Linked DNA regions of Homo sapiens: regions 2 and 3 are each linked to region 1. Evidence: promoter capture Hi-C in 16 types of primary human blood cells and fetal thymus (Javierre and others, 2016). All regions are on one chromosome and are shown on one strand. Each heading gives the region's core, a stretch centred on a gene start or on the middle of the fragment in contact. The rest is flanking DNA. Distances are from core to core; before and after follow the strand shown.

Region 1 (4,464 bases), core at 878-3,377:
TGTAAATATAAATCTGTCAGCCACTACAGCCATCAAAAGAGAGCATCTGGAAGAACAGCCAGCTTGGAAGTTTTACAGCAATAATGTTGCAGTGGAATATTATTTGTAGTTAAGGTCATCCTCCTCCCCTTTCTGTTTTTTTAAATCAAGAACTACGTTCTGCCCCTCTCTTGGGCTTCAGAAGCATCTAAGAAAAGCAGTCATCAATTATAATTAACTTTCAAAGGGCAAGTCAGAAGTTGTTTATAAATTACAAAATAAAGGCATATTATGAACTCTTATTTTCTGGTTATATGACATTGTCTGAGCTCACTGTGGCAGTGGAGCACATATGAGGTTGATGTAAAGCACTTATTACTGTGTCTAGTTCATGGCGAGTGATCTCAGTGAATGACAGTTGTTTGCTGCTCGGAGTGTGGGTTGTTTTTTAAAATAGGAAATGTCAGTATCAATCTAATACTATAGAACAGTCAGTATGTGAAAATGAAAGGACCAAATGCCAACCTCACTTGGACTCTTGGTTCCCAACAGTAAGAGAAACAAATTTGAAAGAGGAAGGAGGTGGCATCAGGAGCTGAAAGCAGAGGTGGAAATGGTTGGGGTTAGTGGGCGCTCAATTTGCCATGAAGTGAACATTTTATTAGATAGGAGATGAAACTTGAAATGCATGCAAGTTAATCTAAAATTTGAGCTTGGGTAGATGGGAATCATGGCAGTTCTCTGAAAGGAGCTGATTAAGGTGTTAATTTTTGGCTATTTGATAAATGTGAGAAAAAACCTGTAGGCAGTTAAGGTGGCTTCTAGAGCATTGTTTTCCAGTTTTTTTAATGTATACCCCAATTAAATGTTTGTTTAGAAGTGAAATATGTTACTTCTGCCAATTTGAGTATTCAATGTGTTATTTTAAATGGAACACATCTGTATGAAGTATGATTTGTTCTGAGAGGTCTTCAGAATCAAATGGCTTAATAGTCCCCTTTTGCTTAATTAATGTCCCGGAGAGGCATTTAAAAGTATAATTGAAGATCGGATGCAGTGCCTCACACCTCTAATCCCACCACTTTAGGAGGCTGAAGCAGGTGGATCACTTGAGGCCAGGAATTCGAGACCAGCCTGGCCAATACGGTTTAACCCTATCTCTACTAAAAACAAAAATGAGTTGGGCGTGGTGGTGCATGCCTGTAATCCCAGCTGTTCAGAGGCTGAGGCGGGAGAATCGCTTGAACTCAGGAGGTGGAGATTGCAGAGAGCCGAGATGGCACCACTGCACTCCAGCCTGGGTGACAGAGTGAGACTGTCTCAAAAGGAAAAAATAAAGTATAACGGTAATGTTTTCTCCGCTAACCTTAAAGATTGATTTGAGCACCTCACTTTGAGGACCATAGTTCCAAAACGCTGTTCAAGTAGAAGCCTAGAATTCAAGGGAGGACACTGTAAGGAAGACCATGGACTAGTTGCACTGGAAACAGTAACAAAAGTAAAAATTAAGCTCACATGTATGTGATGATGTAGGTAGGGATTTCCGCAAGGAGTGAGTGCACGAGATAATCCCTGGGGACCAAGGATTCCTTCAATTTAATGGGCAGTTCTTGAGGCTTTGCAAAGTTTGATTGCAGGTGTGAAGACAGTGGTAAGGTGGACAGCAGAATGAGGAAAAAGATGTCCAGGGGCGTGGGAGAGGGAATGGGGACAGACATACTGGCAGTGATGGAGAAGTTGGGAAGAGGTGATTTAGAAGACCGTGAGCCGCAGCAAAGGATCTGCTTATTGCAGTTGCGTCCGGTGTTGTTCCTGCTCCGCTTTTCTGATTTCACCCTTTCTGGACTCTGTCTTCGTCTCCTGCCACGCCTCTTAACATTCTAAGTCCATGTAAATGACATTCTCACGTTAAGGGCTGCAAAGAAATTGCTGAGGAGCCAGGTAAACAGGCTTTGATTGCAATTGCAATCAAACCTCTGTAGCAAATCGTACAATTAAAACACCCGCAGGCAGGTGTGGGCGACGCCAGCAGCACACGGGGAAGCTGGGCACGTGGGGCGGAGGCAGCTGCCTGGTTTCCATGTGTGCGCCCTTTAAGACCCGGCGGCGCGACGGAAGCGCGTGGGCAGCACGTGGGCAGCACGTGATAGCGCTGGGCGACTCCGCGGAGCTGCACGGCCATGGACGTGGGCGCCGACGAGTTCGAGGAGAGCCTCCCTCTGCTGCAGGAGCTCGTCCAGGAGGCCGACTTCGTGGGTGAAGAGCCTGGGATTCGCGGCTGTGCCGGACAGAGCCCCTTGCCCCGGGCGAGCTTGAGGAGGGGGTGGCGGGACGGTTGCCAGGCCACAGGGCCTCAGAGAGGGCCTCGGGAAGGACAGGGGGGCTTCCTTCTCCAGCCCCGGGGCGGTGGGACTTTGAGCAGCAAGTACACTCCGAGCCCCACGTCCCTTGTTGGCCAGAGCCCCGTGCGCCCAGGTGCCTGGCTGCTCCTTGCCTTGGTTCCTCCATTTTCCCTTCCTGACCTCACTTGGCTTCTTGAGCGCAGAGGTGAGCGCGGGTGCCTTGGCCGCCTGCAGATCTACAGTGTGAGGAGTGCTGGCGATGTTCTGCACCCGAGGACTGCTATTTTTTGCCTTCCTGGCAGGTCTGGACATAGAGTTCACGGGCCTTCGTTCTAACCTGTCTGGGCCCCAGCAGATCAGGTAAAACTAAAGCTGTGTCCCCTCTGTATAAGAGCCTGGCCAGACCAGCACTGTTTCTGGCCAGCAGCCTGTTGGCATTTGGGGGGCAGGACGTTTTGTGTGGCTTGCTCCTACGTGTTGGAGGACCTTGCTTTTTTCTGTCCACTAAATGATGGTAGTGCTCCCTAGTTGTTGTAACAAGGAAAAAATCCTCCCCGGTTGCGAGTGGTGGTCCTGCCGCGGAGGCCATAGTGCCGGGATGGGATGTCATTGCTCGTGGAATGAGATGCCTGTTTGTTCACAGTCTTTTTGATTTGCCATCGGAGTGGTATCTAAAGACCCGTCAGAGTGTTCAGCAATTTACAGTCTGTCAGATTGGTGAGTTTAATATCAGCTGTTAGAGTTTTTCAAGAAGGTATTTTTATTGTCCTTGGATTTCCTACTGTAAAAACAGCTCTGAGATTTTTCAAGGATATTGAGTATCGTTTTGTATGCTTGTTTTGTGTTGGGCCATTGTATACATATGGAAATCAACACTTCGGAGCAAACCAAATTTAGCAGCATTGTTTCCGTGCTTAAATAAGTCAGTATTAAGGAACACTCACTGTTACTCTTTCAAGTAAAACTGTGTGTGTGCGATTTTTATTTTATTTTTTGAGACAGGGTCTTGCTCTGTCACCAAGACTGGAGTGCAGTAGCATAGTCTTAGCTCACTGCAGCCTAGACTTCCTGGGCTCAAGTGATACTAGCACGTCAGCCTCCTGAGTAAACTGGGACTACAGGCTCACCACCACACCTAGCTAATTTTTAAATTTTTTGTTCAGATGGGTTTTCGTCATGTTGGCCAGGCTGTTCTTGACTTCCTGGGCTCGAGCAATCTTTCTGCCTCTGCCTCTCAAAGTGATGGAATTATAAGCGTGAGCAACCACACCTGGCCTGTGATTTTTTTTTCTTAAGAAAATTTACACACAAAAATAATTTTTTTTAAGGTCATCTCAGTTTCAGAAACTTTTTTTTTTTCCTTGATGGGATTTGGAGATCTTTCTGTATCGGTTCATACAGATCTATTTGTTGATTTAGTTATTAGTTTATTTTCTGAGATGGAGTCTCGCTCTGTTGCCCAGGCTGGAGTGCAGTAGCGCGATGTGGGCTCACCGCAACCTCCACCACCCAGGTTCGGGTGATTCTCCTGCCTCAGCCTCCAGAGCAGCTGGGATTACAGGCAATTGCCACCAGGCCTGGCTAATTTTTGTATTTTTAGTAGCGATGGGGTTTCACCATGTTGGCCAGGCTGGTCAAGACAGAGCTGTTAACGGTTGCGTAATGCTGTTTCTTTTACAGCTACTCAATCCTGCTTTTGTAATGTGAAATTAGCTGTAGAGAATACATGAACAAATGAGCATGGCTCCATTCCAGTAAAATGTTATTGTATTTACAGAAACAGACCCTGGGCCAGATTTTACTTTTCTGGGTTTGTCTGTGCCCTCTCCCGCACCATTGGGTTTTTGCTGTGTTGCCCAGGCTGGGCTCAAACTTTTGGGCTCTGGAGATCCTCCAGTCTCAGCTTCTGAAGTAGCTGGGAGTGCTGCCACGCCCAGCCCCTGCTTTTACTATGAATGATGCTGAACGTGTGTGTGTTTTCCTCTCTATCCTGATCCTTTGCTACTTTTCTGTTATGGTTTTTTTTTTGTTCGTTTGTTTGTTTTTAATTATAAGACCTCTTTGAGAAGTATAGGAAACAGTTGTAGTTATGTTTCCATTGTTGTACCCAAATTTGTTTGGGGGGAAGGGGGACAGAGTCTTG
Region 2 (4,464 bases), core at 886-3,385, 300 kb after region 1:
TCTTATCACCAGCAGCACAGGAGGAATTTCTGTTTATGTGATCCTGTTCCTGTGTGTGTGGCCCCAAGTGACAGAGGGCCAGAGAGATTAGAAGTGTCAAGTCGTTACACTCTTGAGTGTCATCTTGCTCCCTAAGCGCAAAGGGAAGTCTCCGTGGTTGTTTCTCATTTTCTATTATTGTCCCAACTCTGCTTGAGTGTTCGATGTCATGGAAACGCACTGCTTTTTCCCACAAGTGTGCATGTGGGTCTTGGGTGGGAATGGTGAACTCCGCTGGTGAGGCAGCTGGTGTGCTCAAGAGCCTTCTCCTGGGATGGAGCAGGCTTGGAGAGAGGAGACCCGTCGGGGGCTGTGCTGGGCTCTGCTGCTCCCTGGGCCCCACCCTGGTCTGTGGCCGCCCCTGGGCCCCGTCCTGGCCTGTTTCTAAGGCCCCCTGGGCCCCTTTCGTGTGGAGATGGTGTCTCATGGTGGGCTGCGCTCACTGCTTCCAGAAGAAATTCTGAGAGGAAAGAGCTCTGACCCTGGAGAGAAGTGTGGTGCTTCGGGACAGCCTCTGCCCCAGCCTAGTCCTGCCGTGGATTGGGCCACCTAGAGGGGGCCGCGTCCCTCCTGCCTGTCTCCTCTGTGTTTGGGTGAATGATAGTTCATGGAGCTGGAAGCAGTGCCTTCTTGTCTGCTTTCTGACAACCCTGCCACAAACTCATCATCAGGAACTTTTTGCAGCCCTCTTCCATGTGGAGTGGGACTTGTGGCCTTGTTTTCTGGGCAGGAGTAAGAATCACATGGTGTTGGGAAAGTCAGAGCTGCTCTTGCCTTGGGGACTCAGGTCTCAGGTTGTGGCTGTGGCAGCAGGACCACCCTGTGACACGGCTCCTTTTCTGTGACGTCCTTGCAGGGTGGGCTTTGACAGCGAGAATCCCGGGGACGACGGGCAGATGCACAAGGGGCTGTCAGAACGGAGCCAGGCAGTCGGCGCGGTGCTCAGCCTGCTGCTGGTGGCGCTCACCTGCTGCCTGCTGGCCCTGTTGCTCTACAAGAAGGAGAGGAGGTAAGCGGGTGGCAGGGCGAGGTGGGGCGGGTGGATGCATGCCTCCCATAGCTAATCTTGGGGTCAGTTTTGTGGGGTTTTATTTATTTGTTTTTAAGCCCTACAGCAGCGAAGGCTCGAGGTTCTTAGTCCAAAACTCTCTGGAAGCAGTCCCCAGCGTTGTGGTTTTTAAATGCCTGCATTTCTGTCTGACCAAGGCCGAGGCCCTCGCACATCACCCGTGCCTGCGGCTTCTAGGACCGTGGTCCTTTGTGTCCAAAGATGAGTAGAACATTAAACGGCACCTTTCATGGGTGCCTTTTCCCACTGAGCAGCTGACCCCTCTGCCCTCCTCACATCATAAATGCAGGAGTTTATTAAGCGCCTGCTATGTACCAGGTATGATGCCATCCTTTTGCGCCACTTTGCTGGGTGAAAGGACTCTCCATGTGACGGTCAAGCAGATTTTCACGTCAGGCGTCAGTGTTAGTGGCTCTGACCTGGGGGCAGGAGCTGGCCAGCTCAGGCGTTCCCTGCTGCCACTGTCATTTGCCAGCTGAGCCACAGGCCAATGAGAGAGGTGGTCAGAAAGTACCAACCATGGAGGTTGCAGTGAGCCAAGATCTCACCACTGCACTCTAGCCTGGGCAACACAGTGAGACTCTGTCCAAAAAAAAAAAAAAAGTACCGATTGTGGCCCTCTACACCCAAAATGCAGAATGGGGCAGAAGAAGGTCTGGGCCGGGAAGGGCATGTGATGTCTGTCTCTGCGAGCCACCATTGGGCAGGCTTAGTGGCGACGGACTGGTGTGGTCCTGTTAGTCATGTGAAAAAGTCCTTGCCCTAATGTTAAGTTGCTCTAGAGGGCCCTCTGCTGTTGGATTCCAAAGCCCATCTTCTTTCCACTCAATCACAACAAATACATTAGGGTATATATAACCTGTCACGGCTACTCATTTGTCATTCAGAATGTGGGAGAAATGCAGCCACCACCAGCCCCCTGGTGGTGCAGATGGGGGTGGGGCTGGCGGGGGTGGGGCTCCTGCCCATGCCCTCTCTACACTGGAGTAATTATTGTCTCCTTTTTTTTTATAGGGAAACAGTGATAAGTAAGCTGACCACTTGCTGTAGGAGAAGTTCCAACGTGTCCTACAAATACTCAAAGGTAATTTTCTGTGGCGAGTCTCTTGAAGGCCTGCCTCCCCGGCCCCCTGTGCTGCGCTGTCCATGTCGTTCTCATCAGGGGTGCCAAGGAAAGCAGTCACAGGCTGACTGGAATCCAGAAAGGAAAGCAACACCCGTTGCCTCAGCCACTTACGCCAGCACATTTTTTTGTTATTTTTTTCCCTCAAGTTTCTCTCGTGGTTACAACTGATTTCCTTGAAGTATTTAATAATTAGGTTGTTTCCACTGTTTTTGGCTGTTCTTTAAAAAAAAAACAAAACACACACACACACAGTAGTGAAGATAGTTGTGCATGTAGCATTTGGATGATTTCTTTCAGGTAAATTTGCAGAAAAGAGGCATTATCTGGATCAAAGGACATAATGTTTGTGGTCTCGATGGGTAATGATGAATTGCTCTCTAAAACTAGGCTTTTGACTGGAGTCCCTCCTTTGACATTCCTCCCCTGCCATGCAGTGGGCACCTTTCAGTCTATGAGTAGCCCGGAAGAGCCCCTTCTCCCCCAGCTGCGCTGGGGGATCACTGGTCTGCTTTTCGGTCCAGGCCATCCCGAACGCCTTCTGCTTGGTCCCACCCTTGGCTGTGAGACTCCTGCCAAATGACCCCACTGCCACCCTCCCAAACCCTCCTGCCTTGGTGCAGTCTCATTAGGAACAGGAAGGTGTTGCCAGCCCTCGTCTTCCTTTCCCTGGGAACTGGAGATGCAGTGACTGTGAGGACAGTGGGCCAGTTCTTCCCCAGCTCGTGCCAGCAGAGAGCATCCCTGATGTGGTGGATGGTGGAGCAGAATGGGGTCTCTTAGGGGGCTCACGTGGTCTCTGCTGTTGATCCCTGGCAGGTGAATAAGGAAGAAGAGACAGATGAGAATGAAACAGAGTGGCTGATGGAAGAGATCCAGCTGCCTCCTCCACGGCAGGGAAAGGAAGGGCAGGAGAACGGCCATATTACCACCAAGTCAGTGAAAGCCCTCAGCTCCCTGCATGGGGATGACCAGGACAGTGAGGATGAGGTTCTGACCATCCCAGAGGTGAAAGTTCACTCGGGCAGGGGAGCTGGGGCAGAGAGCTCCCACCCAGTGAGAAACGCACAGAGCAATGCCCTTCAGGAGCGTGAGGACGATAGGGTGGGGCTGGTCAGGGGTGAGAAGGCGAGGAAAGGGAAGTCCAGCTCTGCACAGCAGAAGACAGTGAGCTCCACCAAGCTGGTGTCCTTCCATGACGACAGCGACGAGGACCTCTTACACATCTGACTCCGCAGTGCCTGCAGGGGAGCACGGAGCCGCGGGACAGCCAAGCACCTCCAACCAAATAAGACTTCCACTCGATGATGCTTCTATAATTTTGCCTTTAACAGAAACTTTCAAAAGGGAAGAGTTTTTGTGATGGGGGAGAGGGTGAAGGAGGTCAGGCCCCACTCCTTCCTGATTGTTTACAGTCATTGGAATAAGGCATGGCTCAGATCGGCCACAGGGCGGTACCTTGTGCCCAGGGTTTTGCCCCAAGTCCTCATTTAAAAGCATAAGGCCGGACGCATCTCAAAACAGAGGGCTGCATTCGAAGAAACCCTTGCTGCTTTAGTCCCGATAGGGTATTTGACCCCGATATATTTTAGCATTTTAATTCTCTCCCCCTATTTATTGACTTTGACAATTACTCAGGTTTGAGAAAAAGGAAAAAAAAACAGCCACCGTTTCTTCCTGCCAGCAGGGGTGTGATGTACCAGTTTGTCCATCTTGAGATGGTGAGGCTGTCAGTGTATGGGGCAGCTTCCGGCGGGATGTTGAACTGGTCATTAATGTGTCCCCTGAGTTGGAGCTCATTCTGTCTCTTTTCTCTTTTGCTTTCTGTTTCTTAAGGGCACACACACGTGCGTGCGAGCACACACACACATACGTGCACAGGGTCCCCGAGTGCCTAGGTTTTGGAGAGTTTGCCTGTTCTATGCCTTTAGTCAGGAATGGCTGCACCTTTTTGCATGATATCTTCAAGCCTGGGCGTACAGAGCACATTTGTCAGTATTTTTGCCGGCTGGTGAATTCAAACAACCTGCCCAAAGATTGATTTGTGTGTTTGTGTGTGTGTGTGTGTGTGTGTGTGTGTGTGTGAGTGGAGTTGAGGTGTCAGAGAAAATGAATTTTTTCCAGATTTGGGGTATAGGTCTCATCTCTTCAGGTTCTCATGATACCACCTTTACTGTGCTTATTTTTTTAAGAAAAAAGTGTTGATCAACCATTCGACCTATAAGAAGCCTTA
Region 3 (4,464 bases), core at 1,294-3,793, 260 kb after region 1:
ATGTTTTTCTTGAAGAGAATCTGACTATATAGTTAATGGTTTTAAGCTATCTTTTGGGATCAGATACATCTTAAGAACAGAGAAGAAAATGCAGAGGAAACACATTTCACATGTACTGTCAGAGCTTCTTATTTGAGGGTGAAAAAAAAAGAAAAAGATGTTAAACTCCCTAAGCTGTGCCCTGGAAGCTGACAGTGTATACAGGAGACCTTGACCTCTGGGATTGACCCTGCCTGCTCTGCAACAGTGGTACTTCCTTGTCAAGGGCAGTGGGGGTTTGGCTTTTTTCTTTAAAGAGTCTTTAGGGACTCACTATGTTGCCCAGGCTGGCCTTGAACTCCTGGTCCTAAGTGATCCTCCTGCCTCAGCCTCCAAAGTAGCTGACTACAGGCGCATGCCACCAGGCCCGGCTGTGAAGGGCAGTTTTGAGGGACAGAGTGGGTGTGTTTTGTAGGCAAAGCCTCTCAGCCTCCCGTGGATTTCCTTATCCTCACAGTTAGGAATGCCAGGTTCACGCCTCCTCAGGGCTTATTTAGGGTGAAAGGCAGTTCTTGAGTGCTCACAAGGAGGCAGAGTTCTCCAGCGTGGTTTTTTGTTGTGTTTCAGACCTGGCTGGAAATGAGTACGACCTGACTGGCCTAAGCACAGTCAGGAAACCTTGGACGGCTGTTGACACCTCTGTCGATGGGAGAAAGAGGACTTTCTATTTGAGCGTTTGCAATCCTCTCCCTTACATTCCTGGATGCCAGGGTGAGTTCTCCTTGGTCTCTTGATTGGCGTCTGTTCATTTTATTAGAGCATTTGACTCAAGGTCATCGCCTTCCTCATGCCCAAACCACTTATTCTGTTCTTCCAGGCAGCGCAGTGGGGTCTTGCTTAGTGTCAGAAGGCAATAGCTGGAATCTGGGTGTGGTGCAGATGAGTCCCCAAGCCGCGGCGAATGGATCTTTGAGCATCATGTATGTCAACGGTGACAAGTGTGGGAACCAGCGCTTCTCCACCAGGATCACGTTTGAGTGTGCTCAGATATCGGTGTGTGTTCAGACCAGCAATGAGATGTTGTCCCCGGGTGACTCCATTTCCCATTTCCCTTGAACCTCTGAATCTTCTATCTTGTTTAAAACTTGCCTGTGTTTTCGTGGAGTTTCAGCCATTGCTAGGGTTTGACGAGAATGCACTCATTTCTTCAGGTCTTAAATGTTTAATAAATGTTACGTAGTTTGCACATGGAGGTCAAAGATTGGGTACTAACTGTGGCTATCATTTATTTAATTTTTTTTTTTTTTTTTTTTTTTGAGATGGAGTCTTACTCTGTCACCCAGGCTGGAGTGCAGTGGTGCAATCTTGGCTCACTGCAACCTCCGCCCCCCAGGTTCAAGTGATTCTCCTGCCTCAGCCTCCCGAGTAGCTGGGATTACAGGCACCTGCCACCACGCCCAGCTAACTTTTGTATTTTTAGTAGAGACGGGGTTTCACCATCTTGGCCAGGCTGATCTTGAACTCCTGAACTTGTGATCCACCCGTCTCGGCCTCCCAAAGTGCTGAGATTACAGGTGTGAGCCACCGTGCCCGGCCCCATTTGATTAATTTTTAAAATAAACAGGAAACAAATCAGGCTGCTGATTTATATTACAGGGCTCACCAGCATTTCAGCTTCAGGATGGTTGTGAGTACGTGTTTATCTGGAGAACTGTGGAAGCCTGTCCCGTTGTCAGAGTGGAAGGTAGGACTGGGCCTGTCCCTACAAGTCATTTTAAATGTATAGAGTAGCAGACGTTCTGAACGATGCCTTAGATATGAGACCGTGTGATAACAGCCATAGCTGGGGTCATGAGACACACGCTAGGGGGAGGATAATTTCTTTTCCTTGAGCTTTTTTTTTTACTGAAGCATATTGCTAATTTCACGAGTGACATTTTCCTTGTGTGCCTGGATTGATGGGATTTTGGCGTCTGATGCTTGAAGACACTAATGTGGGGTTTGGTTTTGTGTTGTTTGATGAAGCAAGTCTTTATTCGGGGACCTAGACTTTCCTAGAAAGCTGTTTGCCAGGCGATTTGTATTATATATAAACAAAATCATGTGGAAATGGCTTTTAATGCCCATTTATAGCTGGTATTTACCTAACCAAAAATTGTAAAAGTTTTTTTTTTTTTTTTTGAGACCGAGTTTTGCTCTGTTGCCAGGCTGGAGTGTAATGGCGCCATCTCGGCTCACTGCAACCTCTGCCTCTTGGGTTCAAGTGATTCTCCTGCCTCAGCCTCCTGAGTAGCTGGGACTACAGGGTGCCTGCCACCATGCCCAGCTAATTTTTGTATTTTTAGTAGAGACGGGGTTTCACCATGTTGGCCAGGATGGTCTAGATCTCTTGACCTAGTAATCCACCCGCCTCAGCCTCCCAAAGTGCTGGGATTACAGGCGTGAGCCACTGCGCCCGGCCATTTGTAAAGCTTTTTGCTTGAAAATGTGAATGCGTGTGTGGTTGCAGTTGCCCTTCACTTCTTCCATGTTCTTGAAGGGGACAACTGTGAGGTGAAAGACCCAAGGCATGGCAACTTGTATGACCTGAAGCCCCTGGGCCTCAACGACACCATCGTGAGCGCTGGCGAATACACTTATTACTTCCGGGTCTGTGGGAAGCTTTCCTCAGACGTCTGCCCCACAAGTGACAAGTCCAAGGTGGTCTCCTCATGTCAGGAAAAGCGGGAACCGCAGGGATTTCACAAAGTGGCAGGTACCATTGTTTGTCGTTTTCCTTTTGTTGCAAAGGAATGGAATTAAAATATTAAAATATTTTGCTGAAGATGAATTTTCCCTTGAGTCAGAAACATGAGTGTTCTACTGTAAAAAAAAAAAAAAGCATATTAATGATATTTCGGATTTTGCTTGATTTTCTTAAACAGAGTACATACTGAAGGATGTTGGTAGAGCATGTCTATTTTATTCTTAGTTAGCCATGCCAGTTACTGACTCTAAGGTCATATTTCTCTTCTTTATTACAACGTTGGGACACAGTGAGCTAGCCAGTGTTGGATGTTCTGGGGTAGTACTTGATAGCATTGAGTCACAGGGAATGCATTTAGTACGAGGTTTGGCTGTAGAAATTACAGGGCACGCTGTTGGTCATTCATGCTGTTTCAGCAGTTGGGCAAGATTTAAATACATTTAGGAACTTGTAAAAATGAAGTCAAAGTAGCTGGTGGTGAGTACGTGGACAGCCCTCAGGCACAGTGGAGAAAGTGACATTCCCTTAGGTGATGAGGCTAAGGAATGCCTCATGTCATCATACACGGGTCAGTCTGTGACGTTGCAGCAGCCTTGGACAAGGGGAAGCCTGATTTTATTCCCAAAGTGTAATGTGACAGGAGTGCATGGTATGGTGCTGGGAGGCCAGGGATACTTTGTCTCACACTCTTCAGGGTGTGTGGTGTCACATGTCTTAGGCTAAGTTTGACAGCCTAGGGACCCGAACCAAACCTTGTTTAATGTTCTCCTTCTTTACAGGTCTCCTGACTCAGAAGCTAACTTATGAAAATGGCTTGTTAAAAATGAACTTCACGGGGGGGGACACTTGCCATAAGGTTTATCAGCGCTCCACAGCCATCTTCTTCTACTGTGACCGCGGCACCCAGCGGGTGAGCATGTACCGACGGCCCTCAGCGGGGTCTTCTCCCCACCCTCAGGCTGCTGGGATCATATTAGAAAGAATCTGTCCTCAGATCTCATCAAATCTCCTGGTTAACTGAGTTTAAAATAACCATTTACAGAAAATATGTTGAAACTTTCATCAGTTAGTATTGATTTTCATGAACGTAACCATTCTTTACTATTTTCATTCTTAAAACTCAAAGTATAAACTAAAGTTTTGCATTCTCACTTTTATATATGTGCCTCTTAACTTTTTTAGCCAGTATTTCTAAAGGAGACTTCAGATTGTTCCTACTTGTTTGAGTGGCGAACGCAGTATGCCTGCCCACCTTTCGATCTGACTGAATGTTCATTCAAGTAAGTCCATGGATGTGTTGTCTCTTTTGGACAGACTAACTTGGTATGATTTTGCTTTAATAATTAGTGGTCTTGGGTGCAGGGGATTAGATTAGTCAGTTAATTTACCTAGGACTCGGTTTGCTCATATTAAAATGAGGAGTCGGGCTAGGTTAACTCTCAGCTCCGTCACCACCTGGAGCTGCTGTGGTGACTGCATGGGGAAGGGATTGGAGCTGAAGCAGAGAGTGGACCCCTGGCACTCTTGCGTGATCCACATGTCAGTGAGCAGAGTGGGCCAGGAGCGGTGTGGTGACCCCTGCGATGAAGGGAGGTCTTCGTTGCATGTGATCGTCCACAGAGCTGCTCTCAACAGCTTTGCCAGATCGCCCTCTGGACACCTGGGGTCCCATCCTTAGAGATTTTGGTTTTGTGGGTCTGCGGTTCTGTTTTTTGGAGGGATGCCCTGTGTTCTGCCGT

The links. The method cuts DNA at HindIII sites, captures the fragments that hold promoters and counts their contacts. A CHiCAGO score of 5 or more calls a contact.
Region 2: a fragment that was not itself captured here is called in contact with the fragment with the promoter of PNLDC1 in region 1 in 1 of 17 cell types (neutrophils); the score reaches 5.2 in neutrophils.
Region 3: a fragment that was not itself captured here is called in contact with the fragment with the promoter of PNLDC1 in region 1 in 1 of 17 cell types (total CD8 T cells); the score reaches 5.5 in total CD8 T cells.

The regions. Positions count from the first base shown.
Region 1 is chr6:159,798,149-159,802,612 of GRCh38, forward strand. PNLDC1 (PARN like ribonuclease domain containing exonuclease 1) reads left to right here and starts at 2,128. Exons shown (of 19, transcript NM_001271862.2): 1 at 2,128-2,235; 2 at 2,624-2,681; 3 at 2,965-3,038. The coding sequence starts at 2,160. MRPL18 (mitochondrial ribosomal protein L18) reads left to right here. Exons shown (of 4, transcript NM_014161.5): 4 at 1-281. The HindIII fragment of the contact is 10,328 bases long and covers 1-4,464 here.
Region 2 is chr6:160,101,624-160,106,087 of GRCh38, forward strand. It overlaps IGF2R (insulin like growth factor 2 receptor), which reads left to right. Exons shown (of 48, transcript NM_000876.4): 46 at 896-1,048; 47 at 2,123-2,192; 48 at 3,051-4,464. The coding sequence ends at 3,461. Among named protein-coding and RNA genes, the nearest start is that of SLC22A1, 18 kb to the right of the region's middle. The HindIII fragment of the contact is 6,206 bases long and covers 1-4,464 here.
Region 3 is chr6:160,060,897-160,065,360 of GRCh38, forward strand. It overlaps IGF2R (insulin like growth factor 2 receptor), which reads left to right. Exons shown (of 48, transcript NM_000876.4): 24 at 607-750; 25 at 857-1,032; 26 at 1,636-1,723; 27 at 2,519-2,734; 28 at 3,505-3,635; 29 at 3,908-4,005. Among named protein-coding and RNA genes, the nearest start is that of AIRN, 55 kb to the left of the region's middle. The HindIII fragment of the contact is 190 bases long and covers 2,449-2,638 here.